Linked DNA regions of Homo sapiens: region 2 is linked to region 1. Evidence: promoter capture Hi-C in human tissues and cell types (Jung and others, 2019). All regions are on one chromosome and are shown on one strand. The core of a region is centred on a gene start or on the middle of the fragment in contact, and the rest is flanking DNA. Distances in the headings are between cores, read along the strand shown.

Region 1 (2,976 bases), core at 388-2,887:
CCACCACGCCTGGCTAATTTTTTGTATCTTTAGTAGAGACGGGGTTTCACCATGTTGGTCAGGCTGGTCTTGAACTCCTGACCTCAGGTGATCCACCCACCTCGGCCTCCCAAAATGTTGGGATTACAGGAGTGAGCCACCGTGCCCAGCCTCTACAGGAAATTCTAGCCAGAGCAATTACACAAGAAAATAAAATAAAAGGTTTCTCAATTAGAATAGAACAAATAAAAATATATTTATAGGTGATATTTGATATATAGAGAATTTTGAAGAATCTACAAGAAAACTAGCAGAGCTTGTAATAAATTCCGTAAAGTTGCACAGTACAACATCAAGAGATGAAAATTAGTTTTGTATCTATACACCAGCAATGAACAATCAGAAAAGGAAACTGAGAATGTGATCCCTTTTACAAATAAGTTACATGGGAATAACTTTACCCCAAGAGGTAAAATATTTGTAAACTGAAAATTTCAAAACATTACTGAAAGAGTTTAAAGAAGACCTAAATAGAGAGATATTGTATATTCACACATAGGAAGACTCAGTATTATAAAGATACCAATATAACCCGAAGATTCAACTAAATCTCTACCACAAGTCCAACAGTCCTTTCTTTTTCTGCACAGAATAAGTGAAGAATGCCTGGTATCAGTGTTATTTCATAAAGTAGTACAGGAGGCTTTGAATCATTTGATAAGATTTGAGAAATAGTAACAAATACATTGTTGAAGAAGAAAAAAAAATACAATAAGGCCAGGCATGGTGCATGATGGCTCACGCCTGTAATCCCACTTCGGGAGTGCAGGGCGGGCAGATCACTTGAGCCCAGGAGTTCCAGACCAGCCTGGGCAACATGGTTAGATCCTGTCTCTACAAAATAATAATAATGATGATAATAATAATAATACAAAAATTAGCCGGGTGCGGTGCGCCCGTGGTCCCAGCTACTCGGGAGGCTGAGGTGGAAGGATGGCTTGAGCCTGGAGAGGTGGAGACTGCAGTGAGCCGTGTTCCTACCACTGCATTCCAGCCTTGGCAACCGAGCCAGACCCTACCTCGAAGAAAAAAAGAAAAGAAAAGAAAAAAGAAAGAAAAGAAAAAAATTGCAATATTTACAGAAAGTATCGATAACTGAAAACGCAGAGGAATCAATGATTAGAGTTTAGCAAGGTCAGATAAATAAAAAGAAATAAGAGAAAATAAAGTTCTAAAGACGTGATCGAATGCAGGAAGCAGGCCATTTTGTGGATTGGCAGGTTATCAACTGGAGAGAATCCTGAAAGGGGTCCAGGAACGTGGGGAAAGTTTCTAATGAGCATCCTGAGGGGCGAGTCCATCGCCCGACGTTTCGCCTTCCTGGTCCATTCTGCCACCGAAGCCACCGGCTGGGTCTGGTCCCACCTCCAGCCCCGCCCCCGGGCATGGGCCCCGCCCACAGCCCTGATTTAACCCCCACCTTTCTCTGTGGGTCCATTTCTCTCTTGCCCACCCAGGCACTGAGCCGACCCCTTGATACCTCCGCACCCACGCGGAGGGAAACTAGAATCCTGAAGAGTTCCATCCTGTCCAACTGCCCACACAACGAGCCACGCCCCTTCCAATGCCCCAAACGGAAGTGACGTTGCGGCGCGCCAGTTCTCTCTTTTGGTCGCTGGCGCCTGTTTCCTCAGAGCCACTTTTTCCTTTGTGTTGTCTGGTCGTTCACTACTTTGGTGAGGCTCGTGTGGACTAGTGGGTTGGGCGGTGTTTCGGGGGGTGGCAGAGGTCACAATCGACCCAGGGTAATCGAGGAACCTCCTTACAGAGGCCTGGACCACTCCACAGGAGTCCGCAGGAGTCGCGGAGCCATCGGGTGAGGCCACGTCGAAGAGGCCATTGGGACCTTCGGTCCCCTAGAGGAGCCGGGTGGGAAGTGCAGTATGGGCGCGTCCGAGGGCTGTTTTCAGCCGTGTGTTCCCGTCTTCAAAAGTGTCCAAGCGTTCTGAGGCCTTAAAAAATAAGTCTCCAAGGCAACGTTTGTGAATTGTGTTTCAGAGGGAAAAGAATTTTGCCGTTCGCGTTCGATTGACTCCGTCCCCAAGATCCTGTAGCCCCACGGACCTGGCGACTCCACCGTGTTCGGGTGAGCATTGGGAAAAAGTTGGTTTAAGGGGGCAGCTGCTTCCTTTTTTATGCAAACGAGTGTTTCATGTGAGATTTTGGCATTTTGCCTTTGTGAAACCTGTATATTTTTTATTGACACATTACGTTCCGGTAGAAAGGTGCTTTCTTAGTTGTCTAGGGTGTGCGTATTTCTGCATGTGCATATAAACGTTTGTAGACCGCGAGTCTTTCTACTAAAGAAACCTAAGAATACTCAGCCATTCTTTTCATCTGAAGTTCCTAGCTCTGTACGTCTCCAAAGAGCTTCATAACCAGGCTTCCTGGAAGAAAGGATGGAGGGTTTACACACTAATACTAGAATAATCGAATTTACCATTAACAGGATGACTGTACTAAGTGTATTTTTCCCGCATTTTTTTTCGAAAAAACTTAAACCTATGGGTATGTTGACCATCCAGTACCACGAATAAATATCCATTGTAGCTGCACCTGTTTTTTAGCGTTTTGTGTATTCGCCGTCTCGTAAATAAATTTTATGGTGAACAGTTTGAGAGTCAATGGGAAATTCATTGCAGAGATGAAGCTCGACATTTTTTTTTTTTTTTTTTTTTTGAGAGGGGGTCTAGCTGTGTCGCCCAGGCTGGAGTGCAGTGGCGCGATCTCGCCTCACTGCAACCTCTGCCTCCCGGGTTCAAGCGATTCTCCTGCCTCAGCTTCCCAAGTGGCTGTAATTACAGGGGTGTGCCACCGTGCCCGGATAATTTTTTGTATTTTTGTAGAGATGGGGTTTCACCGTGATAGCCAGGATGGTAAGCTCGACATTTAAGTAGTGGGTAATGCCTGACTCAATGATAAGAGTGTTGTTTTACT
Region 2 (3,005 bases), core at 51-2,550, 260 kb after region 1:
TCCTGGTTTGAGGCCAGGATTTCAAGACAAGCCTGAGTCACATAGAGAGACCCCCTAACTGGGTGTGATGATGCATGCCTGTAGTCCCAGCTACTTGGGAGACTGAGGAGGATCACTTGAGCCCAGGAGTTCAAGATTTCAGTGAGCCACTGTACTCCAGCCTGCACAATACTGTGAGACACTGGCTCAAAAAAAAAAAAAAAAATGCCAGAGCAACATAAAATTGTAAGCATTCATTACCTTTCTGCCACCATGCATTGGGGAAAGTGGATCCCTCAGCTGATGCTGACCATTGGCAGACAGGATGGTGTGTGTGGAGATGGCGGGAGGGTCTTAGGGATGTGGGATGAACCCTGACACCATCTACTACCCCATCCTTCACTGCAGACCCAGTTCTACCAGTTCTCATCAAAAGGGTGAACTGCATCCCAAACACAGTCCACATTCTGTGGCTTCCATTCCTGAAGACATCTCCAGAAAGTCTCAGAAGAAAATTAAACTATATGAGAGAACAAATCTTTTCTATCGTATAATTATTACATGTTCTACAATCTGGGGTTAGATCATAAAACTGCAATTATGGGAAATAAAGGTCAAATAAAGAAGGAAAGAAAGAAAGACAAGAAGGAAGGAGGGAATGAGAGAAGAAAGAGGAGGGAATGAGGGAAGAAAGAGGAGGGAATGAGGGAAGAAAGAAGAGGAAAGGAAGAAAGTAAAAAAGGAGGGAGGGAGGGAAGAAAAGGAATAATCACAAAGAAGGAAGCAACGTCTCAGTTATTCTAGGCAGTTCATTACTATGAATCATCAGAACAAACAAGCTTACAAATCTACATTCCTAATTTGATGTGAAAAATCACATCACTGTTCTTATGAAATAAAGGATAGCAAAGTTGGAGTGTGGTCTCAACGTCAAGTTGCCAGGTTATAGTTCACCTCTATCTGCTTCTTCCTTTGTGGAACAAGGTGAATGAGAAAAGACATGTCAAAGAAATGTTTTCAGGGCCAACTGTGGTGGCTCATGCCTATAATCCCAGCACTTTGGGAGGCCGAGGCAGGTGGATCACTTGAGGTCAGGAGTTTGAGATCAGCCTGGCCAACATGGCAAAACCCCATCTCTACTAAAAATACAAAAAAAATTAGCCAGGTGTGGTGGTGCACACTTATAATTCCAGCTACTTGGGAGGCTGAGACACAAGAATTGCTTGAACCCGGGAGGTGGTTGCCGTGGGCTGAGATAGCGCCATGGCACTCCAGCCTGGGTGACAGAGTGAAACTGTGTCTCAAAACAAAACAAAACAAAAACAAAAAGAAAGAAATGTTTTCAGGATTAAATAAAGCCATACATGTAAAGCAACAAGCACAATCCTAAAAGGGAAACACGTTGCCTTGACTATTGTATGATTTTCATCCAATTTCTTCCAGAGGAAACAAGAACACAACCAAGTTTAGGTGAAGGGTGCTAACATGCAAATGGGTAATTTTTGAGGAAAGCATGTCATCATATCAGCACTCGATATGATAAGTGTTTCAAACAACACGTGAGAACTCTCAAGAGTGGCTCTAAGAAAATGGACCAAAGATGGAACTTTAAAGACTGTATATAAAACGGAAAAGTTAGAAGGAAATTACCAAGGGAGTTACTGAGAGAACCTAAAGTAAAAACATGTAGCAAAAGCCAAATCACAAGTGTTTTGGGAAGAGTAAAAATGAAGCATGTGATTTTCAGGAGAAAAAGAGCCAGGATATTTATTTCTTGTTTTCTTTTAGTTTTGTAGTTGTTGTTTTTGAGACAAAGTCTCACTCTGTCGCCCAGGCTGGAATGCAATGGCGCAATCTCAGCTCACTGCAACCTCTACCTCCCAGATTCAAGCAATTCTCCTGCCTCAGTCTCCCAAGTAGCTGAGATTACAGGCACCCACCACCACACCCAGCTAATTTTGCATTTTTAGCAGAGATGGGGTTTCACCACATTGGCCAGGCTGGTCTTGAACTCGTGACCTCAAGTGATCCACCCACCTCAGCCCCCAAAGTGCTGGGATTACAAGCATGAGCCACCAAGCCTGGTCGAGCCGGGATATTTAAATTCACATTTGCCTAATGGACCTACAACATCCACTTAGTTCTGAGACCTTGATCTGTCATGGACAAGAGGCTGGTCTGCTGAGGAACTGAATGTTCATGAGCAGGGCTCTGTCAAACATAATCTTGCCTTTGTGACCTTTTTATAAACCCAATGATCTCTCTGACAACCACCACTTAGACAGATTGAACCCTAGGCTAACACATTCTGCTGCCAAGTGGATGTTATTAATAAGGTGTTTCACAGCACAACAAACTAAACCCTTCCAAGAACAAACTCGATGCAAAGGAAAGTAGATTGAACCCTACTTTCTGCCATGTACAAAAATCAAATCAAATAAAAAACAGATCAACAGGCCTGGCGCAATGGCTCATGCCTGTAATCCCAGCATTTGGGTGGCCGAGGCGGGTGGATCACTTGAGGTCAGGAGTTCAAGACCGGCCTGACTAACATGTGAAACCCCATCTCCATCAAAAATACAAAAATTAGCCAGGCGTGGTGGCGGGCACCTGTAATCCCAGCTACCTGGGAGGCTGAGGCAGGAGAATCACTTGAACCCGGGAGGCAGAGGTTGCAGAGAGCCGAGATCACACCTCTGCACTCCAGCCTGGGTGACAGAGAGAGACTGTGTCTCAAAATAAATAAATAAATAAAAAGTCAATAGCTTAAATATAATGTAGCTAAAATCATAAAACTCTTAGAAAAAAACATACAGGAATATCTTGATTACACTTTATTTGGAAGCAGATTGTTAGATACAACAGTGAAAGCATGAGTAACAAAACAAAAAAATAGATATATTGAACTTCATCAAATTTTAAAACTTTTCTCTATCAAAATGTTCTGTTAAGAAAATGGAGCATGGTACCAATAGAAACACAGATACAAAGGACAATGGAACAGAAGAGGTGGTGCAGAAATGAAT

Evidence for each region. The method cuts DNA at HindIII sites, captures the fragments that hold promoters and counts their contacts. A contact is called where the count stands out against the background at its distance.
Region 2: a contact is called between a fragment that was not itself captured here and the fragment with the promoter of ZNF560 in region 1, in 9 of the 25 tissues and cell types used here (H1 embryonic stem cells, IMR-90 fibroblasts, aorta and 6 more).

Annotation. Positions count from the first base shown.
Region 1 is chr19:9,497,277-9,500,252 of GRCh38, reverse strand. It overlaps ZNF560 (zinc finger protein 560), which reads left to right and starts at 1,637. Exons shown (of 10, transcript NM_152476.3): 1 at 1,637-1,715; 2 at 2,038-2,125. The HindIII fragment of the contact is 15,358 bases long and covers 1-2,976 here.
Region 2 is chr19:9,240,545-9,243,549 of GRCh38, reverse strand. It overlaps a transcript of OR7E24 not described here. Among named protein-coding and RNA genes, the nearest start is that of OR7E24, 8.9 kb to the left of the region's middle. The HindIII fragment of the contact is 9,125 bases long and covers 1-3,005 here.